Regions from separate parts of the Homo sapiens genome. Here region 2 is linked to region 1. Evidence: promoter capture Hi-C in human tissues and cell types (Jung and others, 2019). All regions are on one chromosome and are shown on one strand. The core of a region is centred on a gene start or on the middle of the fragment in contact, and the rest is flanking DNA. Distances in the headings are between cores, read along the strand shown. Region 1 holds the start of TDRD7 (tudor domain containing 7). Region 2 holds the start of LOC158434 (a long non-coding RNA gene).

Evidence for each region. Contacts are between HindIII fragments. The study calls those that stand out against the background at their distance.
Region 2: a fragment that was not itself captured here is called in contact with the fragment with the promoter of TDRD7 in region 1 in 1 of the 25 tissues and cell types used here (lymphoblastoid cells).

What each region holds. Positions count from the first base shown.
Region 1 is chr9:97,409,351-97,413,873 of GRCh38, reverse strand. It overlaps TDRD7 (tudor domain containing 7), which reads right to left and starts at 1,778. Exons shown (of 17, transcript NM_014290.3): 1 at 1,636-1,778. RefSeq lists enhancers at 932-1,191, 796-1,295, 1,296-1,797 and silencers at 1,133-1,427, 1,512-1,721, 1,742-2,091. The HindIII fragment of the contact is 10,560 bases long and covers 1-4,523 here.
Region 2 is chr9:96,114,820-96,119,342 of GRCh38, reverse strand. LOC158434 (a long non-coding RNA gene) reads left to right here and starts at 2,932. Exons shown (of 3, transcript NR_132344.1): 1 at 2,932-3,097. The HindIII fragment of the contact is 5,451 bases long and covers 1-4,523 here.

The DNA of each region.
Region 1 (4,523 bases), core at 529-3,028:
ACCTGTACACTTAAAAGGGCATTAGCAGGGGATTACACTTCATTTTCAATCTACAGAGACTGAAATCTGAAGGCACTGCCAACTGCTGCCTCACAGTCTCACCGTGCAACTACCAAAGACGGAGGCTGTGTGCCACCAAAGGGCCCTGGATTGGGGCACAGGAGATGTGAGTGCTAATCCAGCTGGCCCCAGGGGCAATTCCCTATACCCAGAACAGTACTTTGCACGTAACTGATGCTCAATGAATGTCAGCTGAGAGGAAATGCAAAAATATCCACCATGTGCCCATTTATATTATATAGTAAACACAAAGATCTTTGTGTCCCTGCCCTCAAAAAACTAAAATCCAATTATGTAAAACATGGACCGTTTGTTGGGAGGAAGAGAGTGAATACTGCTTGGCAATTATTATGAGGCAAAGGATATACAGTGGTTATCTTGGAAAAGCCTTGCAAAGTAAGCCAGGTACCTCTATTTGACACATAGAAAACCAGGCTAAGAGAAAGCATGTAATTTGTTCAAGATCACACAATTTGTAAAATGAGAAGCCCAGATTTCAATCCAGGTCTGCAAAGTTCACATTATTTGCAGTATGCAACACATTCATACACATCAAGGCAGCCCAGGACGAGACAGGGATTTGGGTCCAAGTTTTACTTCTGCTATTAAGCTGTTGCCTATCTCTCTAGAGAGAACATTTCTCTGCATTTTTTTCACCGGCACGATTGGAGAGCAGAGAGGTGTTGGTAGGAGGGTTAATGAACTAGATCTGTGGTTTTTTGGTTTGGTTTGGTTTGGATGGGCGGTGATCAGAATTCTTCTGGGCCAGGACTTGTTCTAATGTGGTTGTTTCCCTTCCCTGCTCTTAGAAATTATTTGAGAATGGTACCTTTAGCTATTAATGGAAATATACCTCTCAAGTGAATGGGAGCAGAAAGATATGCCGGCTCCAAGCTCCCTCCTAGCAAGCTGAAGCTGAGAGTCTGACCCTGCTGAGGGGATGCTACTGAAAGTTGAGAGACAACTTACTCACGGATCCATGTTTCCCTCCCAGCTGGGTGCTCTGTACCCACTGGGTGCTCCTCGTTTGAGAGAAATGGGGATGTGTGTCCTGCATTACTTAAGCGGCCTGCCTGGGGCTCGTCTCCAGATTATAGAGACCTTCAAGAGAAGTTCGTGGTGTAAAATACTTGGGTTCAAATAGGGGAGCGCGGACATCCCTCGCTGGGGGCGGCGGCTGCGGCCTGTCGCGCCGGTAGCGGGAACCACTTCCTGGTCCGCATCTCCCGCCCGCGTCCACACCCCGCTGCTGCATTTCCCCCACGGCGCAGAGCTTCCGAGGCGGCAGGAGGCTCCGTCCGACTCCCGCGTGAACGCCCGGCCCGGAGCAGGGTCCCTTCAGAGATTTAAAACACAACGCTCTGGAACTCCAACTCCCCCGGCGCCCAGCCCGGTTCCCAGGCGTCGGGGCGGGGGCAATCCCCTGCGGCTGCAGGGAAAAGGCCCCGAGCCTGTTGGAGCCCCCGGCCCTGGCCGCGGTCCCACCGGTGACCCAGGTGCGCCGCGCCCGCCCGAAATCTCGTCCGACGTCGCCCGGCACCTGTCGCGCCCGGAGCCCGCAGGACCTGCACTCACCTCGTTCCGGGGGCCCACGGCCCGTCCCCGCGTCTCTGGGCCCAGCTCCTGCCGCCGTCTCCGCCAGGGGCCCCGCCGCGGCCGCCGCCCACTTTCGGTTTCCCCGCACCACCGGAGCCGCCCCGCGGCTTGGGAATCACCTCAAGCCCCCGCCCCGCCCTGCTCGGCCCCGCCCCGCTTCGCCCCGCCCCGCTTCGAGGGCAGCCTGGCCTCGGCTCTGCGCACGCGCGGGCGCTCCGGCCGCGTCGGCCCACGCCGGCGTCCGCGCGTGGGAAGGGAAACCGTCGCCACCTAGCGGTTTCTGCGCGTGCCCACGCACCGGCCGGCGGCGGAAGACGCCTGCGGGGCGGGTGCGGGAGCGCCTCCTGGTGGACAACGCAGGTACGCGCGGGCCGAGCGAGCCGGGACTCAGCAGGGGGCGAGGGTGGCTCCTTCTATGGGGCTCACCCTCCTTCCAAACAGTTCAACTCCTGCACATTATTTTCTTCAACATCTGGAGCAGTTACTTTTTATTGCCCTAGACACACACTCTGTCCGCCCATATCCTTCAGGCCTTTCTCAAGCATTACCCTTTCAATGACGGTGGACACAGTCTCTAACATGTCAACCTCCTTCCTTGACTTTCCCTATCCCCATTCTCAACCTTATTTCTCCTTAGCACCTATCTAGCACACTATATGTATTTTACTTATGCTTTTATTGTCTGCTATCCTTCTAAAATTAAAGCTCTGTGAGCACAAGGATTTTTGTTTGGTTCCTTAACCTATTCCCAGAGCCTAGGATAGTGCCTAGCACACGATCAGCAATAAATATCTGTCAAATTTATTCATTCACTCTAAAGTTATTGAACACCTAATAAGTGAATACTTATTTATTCTGCACATTAATTCCACCAACACTTATTGGCACCTGCTTTGCATCCCTGCAGCCAACATTGAACACTTCTCTGCACCATTGGATATGCATTTACTGAGAACCTGCTGCTTATTCAACCGGTATTTTATTACAGCTTGACTGCCATGTATAAGACATACAATAAACTGAACGTTTAAAATGTACAGCTTGATAAATTATGCATTTACTGAGAACCTGCTGCTTATTCAACCGGTATTTTATTACAGCTTGACTGCCATGTATAAGACATACAATAAACTGAACGTTTAAAATGTACAGCTTGATAAATTATGCATTTACTGAGAACCTGCTGCTTATTCAACCGGTATTTTATTACAGCTTGACTGCCATGTATAAGACATACAATAAACTGAATGTTTAAAATGTACAGTTTGATAAGTTTTGATATATATATATCACTGTGAGACCATCACTGCAATCAAAATCATGAACATATCCATCACCCAAAAAAGTTTTACTGTGATCCTTTGTAATTCTTATATCTTGTCCCTCCCTGTCACTTGCCCCCTCAACTGCTCACCTGCTTTCTGTTGCTATAGATTATTTTGCTTTTTCTAGAGTTATATGTAAAACTTTTATGTATGGAATCGTATGTACTATCCTTTGGGGGGCTGCCTGGCTTCTTTTATTTAGCAAATTATGTTCATCCATGTTGTTACATGTATCAATAGTTCATGTCTTTCTATTGCTGAATGGTATTGTAGGGATGTACCAAACCTACCACGCAACCCAGCAATTCTGCTCCTGGGTATTTACCCAGGAGAAATGAAAGCAGATGTCCACACAAAAACCTGTACAAGAGTGCTCATGGCAGTTGTGTTGGCCGTAGCCCCACATGGAAAGAATACAAACATCCGTCAGAAGGTGAATGGACAATCAACTAATATATATTGAACACCTGCTGTTAAATAACAAATTTTCATGGATAAGCCTGTGCTTATAGAGCTTTTGATTCAGTGAAAAGATGCAGTAGGCAATACAAAGAAAAATTGGAAGTAAATCTGGAAAACCTGATATCCAGCTCTCAGACACTTGGATGTTTCCCCAAAGGCGGTAGGGAATTGTTCAGAGTTTTTGAACAGGGCTTTTCTTTGAACACTGTTCTCTTTCATATCCTAGATCTGGTCCCTGACTAAGTTTGCCTAAATGTCTCTCTCTGGAATTTCTCTGCATCTCCTTTGCTCTATTTCAGTCTATTTCAGATGTCTTTCTGTTCTTTCCCTTCCAGTCTACTCCAAACATTGCAGTGGATTTTTAATAGACTTTGCTATGGTCTGAATGTTTGTGTCCCTACAAAATTCATGTTGAAACCTAATCCCCATTCTTGCGGTGTTGAGAGGTGGGACCTTTGAGAAGTCATGATGGCTTCGTCCTTGTGAATAGAATTAGTGCCCTTAGGGGCTTAAGGGAGCCTTCTGCCCCTTCCACTGTGTAAGGATTCAGCAAGAAGGTGCCATCTTTGAAGAGGAGAGCAAGTCCTCACAGGATGCCAAATCTGCTGGCACCTTGATCTTAGACTTCCAAACCTCCAGAACTGTAAGAAAAAAATTTCTATTATTTATAAATTATCCAGTCTAAGATATTTTGTTATAGCAGCAGGAATGGACCAAGACAGACCTAAAAGACAACCAGCCCCAATTTGGTCTCTGCAGTACTCACAACATCCTGTGGCTCCACATTTTAGAAGGGAAAGATGTAAAAAGCAGCTGCCAAAGGAAAGAGTGCTAGTAGTAGCAGGAAATAAAAAAAAATTTCAGAGTCTAATATGTAGAATAAATCATAAAATAATGTGAGTTGAACCCAAGTTTGAGATCCTTTATCCTTGCAAAGATGTTCCATGTTTAGACTGCCCTATATGTAAAGAAAAATGAAGCTCTGCAGCTAGTTTTTTTTAAACCAGCTTTTTTGATAGTTGACATATAATACATATTTAAATGTACAGTGTGATGAGTTTTGACCAACGTCTTTAATTG
Region 2 (4,523 bases), core at 942-3,441, 1.3 Mb after region 1:
CAGCAGAGAACAAATTAAATAATTATAGGGCAGCCTAATGAGATGGGAGGAAACCGCACATCCACCTCCCTGAGGAGTTTGGGGCTAGGGATGTTAAGGGGTTTGGAGTGGACTGAGGTGTGGGGATCATTGATTGATTGATGAATTCAGGGTAAAGTCATGGGAAGGGGAGATGAAGAAACATTCTCATGCTGATATAGTTCTTCTATAAGGGTTTTCACACTGGTTGATGTCAGCTGTTCTGCTAGAATTCAGAATCTGAAAAACATTGTAAGCAATTCTTAAGCAAAAGCTCTATGATTCTAGCATCAGAGATCCTCTTTATCTTCCAACTTTTATGAGAAAGTTTTAAAATTTCATGTTATCATTTTTATGTGTTCCTCTTAATATGGCACCTTGATCTTGTTTTATGGATGCAACATCTCCCTTTTTCACTAAAAAATAAATTACAAATTTTATAAAGGTATCTTGTTCTCTATATTACCTCTCATTCCTTTATTATGTTTTTTTCTTTCTTTCGTAAAGACTTTCCTCAAATATCTGCTACTCCTGAGTCCATTCATATTTAAAGGGCAAATGGCTAGACTAAAAAGATGATTGGAAGCCAGGTGTGGTGGCTCATGCCTATAATCCCAGCACTTTGGGAGGCAAAGGTGGGAGGATTGCTGGAGCCCAGGAGTTCGAGAAAAGCCTAGGTAACAAAGCAAGACCCTGTCTCTACAAAAAAAATTTAAAAATTAGCTGGGCATGATGGCACATGCCTGTAGATCCAGCTACTTGGGAGGCTGAGGTGGGAGGATGGCTTGAGCCTGGGAAGTCAAAGTGGCAGTGAGCCATGATAACCCCACTGCACTCCAGCCTGGGTGAAACCACAAGACCCTGTCTCAAAATTTAAAAATAAACAAACAAACAAATAAATTAGGTTATTGGAAACTCTGCATGCAAAGGTTTCTCTTTCAGTAGGACTTCCCAGAAGGAAACTGGCTATTTTGTTGAGGAACTCTTAAACATTATTATCTGCAAATCCTATCTCTGGGATTGATGAGTTTCCCCAGAGAAGAATTCTCTAATTTCCTGAGCCTGGCCTAGTTCACAGCCAAGTGAGGAAAGGGGATGCCACAGGGCTTGATTTTTATTACACTCCACTGTTTTCACCTAGACCTGGGTCCTGAGCCTGGACTCCCTTTCCTTTGTCTTCTCTAGAAAGTGACAACAACTCCCCCCATCCACTTGTCTTCTTCTGGATGAGGGAGGGGTGGTCCCAGTCCTGAGTGAGGTAAGCAAGGGAATCTCTGACTTCTTCTTTTATAGATTTTCAATTAATCCTCTCATTTTTAGCCCACTGGGATATTCCCCATGAGCAATGCCCTATGCTTCCACTTCCCAAGACTCCCTGGGTTCTGCGTTGTGAATCTGCCCAGCAGCTCCTGCCCCAGCCCTTGAAGTGCTAGCTTTCTGCATCCTGTGGTCTGTTCACTTACTCACTGCTAGATCTGACTTCCTCTTGCAGTCATTCAGTTGACCTCTCTCTGCTGTGACTCCTTTCATGTTCTCTTCGCTTTTGTGCGCCAATGTCTTTTTGTCCCTTTCCTGTCACTTTCATGGAGGGTTAGGAGGGAATAGAGACAAATGGCTGTGTGCAATTCATCATGCTTACATAAATTTCCATAAAGCCACAGCTCCTGATGTTGTTAACCGTCCCACCTGTGTGTTTCTTATCCACCCTCACCCCGCACTGGGGACAATCCCATTGTCTGCTAACTGCTTACCACATTTCCAGTGAAATGACCTTGCCTTTCATTTGGATTTGGGGAGGGGCAGAGTGTTAGGATCTGCATAACAAGATCCCCCACTTTCAATGTAGAATCAAGAATGGGAAATAAAGCAACCCTTGCTAGTTTCCAAAGTATTAGATACCGCTCCTGGGTCTCAGTAACTCTGAATATGCCAGACTTTTATCAAGGAGTAAAACAGTCACCCACGCCTTTGTGAAAGCTCGCAAGTTTGAAATTGTGCCGAATGAGGAAAAGCTTCCACACCAGACAGTTCCAGGTGCCCCTCTGAAAGAGTTATCCCTTTGCCTCAAAAAGAAAACAAGACACAACAAAAAACAAACAAAAAAACCCCCCAAGAAACAATGACAACAACAACAACAAAACCCTCTGTGGTCACAATGGAGAAAAGGTAGGACTAGGGGGCAGCGGGGCTTGAGAACCCTGCCCTCAAATGTTTATATAAAAGGAAGAGCTGCCTGGCACGGTGGTAACTGAGCTGTGTCCCTTCCAGGCTGAGCTCTGTCTTCAGCTGGACAATTTGAGCCAGCTGTGCCTGTTTCTTCCCCAGGGCTGAGAAGGCTTTTATTCACAGGCAGTTTCCTGGGATTGCCATTAGTGAAGACAGGGATCAAGGACTCACAGACAATGCCCTGCAAAGACAGCCACTCCCTTGGCAATTGGGGCAGAGTTTGCATCTTGGAGCTGGAACCTTGGCGGCCCCTGAGCACAGTGTTCTGGAGGAGTCTGTGCTGAAGGGCAGCCTGGAAGCCTGTGGGACATTGGGAACGGTACCAGCTGGGGCCTGGGCTTGCCCCTGGGTACAGAATGTTTTATTCAGTGGGCAAAGCAGTGCCAGGGTGGATGAATAAAGCCTTCAGATTCTGCATGGGGGTTTGTTTAACTCTCCCCCTTCTCATCCTCTGAACACAGCCAGAGGCATTTGGAACATGGCCCATATGATCATATCATTGGTGACAATGGAATCCAGGCCACCCAAAATCAATGAGTCTCTAACAAGGCACAACTGGCTGCTGGGACTTGTCTCCAGCATTGCAACATTGCCAGCTATTCTTTGTCTAAGTGCACTCATGTTAATGTGTAAGCCATTTCCTTCCCAGTGAGAAGGTTCTTTGTGAGATTGCTCTGTATGCTCACACTTGGAGACTGAAAGTTGGACTCGTAGGTACTGAGCGTCTTGTTGTGGAGACCAGATGCAATGCCTGGGCCTCCTGCTCCAGCTCCCATCCAGCCCTGGGTCAAAGCCTGCAGGCGAAGGACAGGACAGCAGAGTGAGCTCCAGGATGTGGAGGAAGGAAGATGAGGTGTGGTGGGGAAAGGGTAAGTGGGTGTGGAGGGTAGAAAAGTGTCCCCGAAAAGATAGCTCCAAGTCCTTACCCCGGTCCTTGCAAATGTGACCTTATTTGGAAATGAGATTTTTGCAGATATGATCTAGTTAAAGGTCTCAAGATGAGATCATCCTGGATTTAGGGTGGGACCTAAGTCCATTGACTAGTAGATATTTTTGCAAGAGAAAGGAGAAGATTTGAGACACAGAGAGACACAGAGGGAAGAAAGCCGTGTGAACTTGGACTCAGAGATGGGAGTGATGCTGTCACAGCTAAGAAATGCCAGGAAGCACCACAAGTTGGAAGAGGCAAGGGAGGGATCCCCCCCAGAACCTTCAGAGAGATCGTGGCCCTGCCAACACATTGATTTTGGACTTTTGGTCTCCAAAACTGTGAGAGAGGAAGTTTCTCTTGTTTGTTTTTTGTTGTTGGTGGTGGTGGTTTTTTGTTTTTTGTTTTAGATGGAGTCTCGCTCTGTCGCCCAGGCTGGAGTGCAGTGGTGCGATCTCGGCTCACCGCAAGCTCCGCCTCCCGGGTTCACCATTCTCCTGCCTCAGCCTTCCATGGAGCTGGGACTACAGGTGCCCGCCAACACACTCGGCTTTTTTTTTTTTTTTTTTTTTTTTTGTATTTTTAGTAGAGACGTGGTTTCACCATGTTAGTTCTCTTGTTTTAAGCTGCCACATTTGTGGTACTTTTGTTATGGCAGCCCTAAGGAGCTAATTCACAGGAGAGATGGGGAAGGGAAGAGGCAAGAAGATAGAAAGATGAGGAGGTGGGGACAGGGACAGCCATGCAGGCTGAGGCAGCAGGGGTGGAACAGCTCCCCTCCCTGTCATAGTCGCTTCATAACAAAATATCCTGGACTGGTGGCTTAAACAACAGAAATTAATTTTCTCAGAGTTCTGGAGGCTGGAAGTGAAAGATGAGGGTGCCAGCATGGTCAGTTTCTGGTGAGGGCTCTCTTTCTGACTGGTAAACGGCTGCCTTCTGGCTGTGTCCTCGTAGGAGAACAGAAGGCAAAGGAAAGCTCTCTAGCTTCTCTTCCACCACGAGCTTCAAATCTAAACCTGATTATCTCCCAAACACCATCACTTTGGGGGTTAGGGTGTCAACATATGAGTTTAGGGAGGATGCAATTCAGTTGATAGCAGGCCTTCATGCATGGGTGTCCCAGCATAGGTCTGGCAGTTTAGAGGCCAGAACTACACGGAATCTTGCTATGCAAAATGGGCAAAAACACCATTGATTGAAGGATAATTTAACCCGGAGCAGAGAAGTTACATTGAGAATCGAAAAATGACACCCTTGCCTTGGGGTTAACGAGGCTGAAAATAAAGACTAAACCAGCAGTAGTCTGGATGAAGGTGAAGGCAGGTGGGGCATCATTCATCAGACCTGG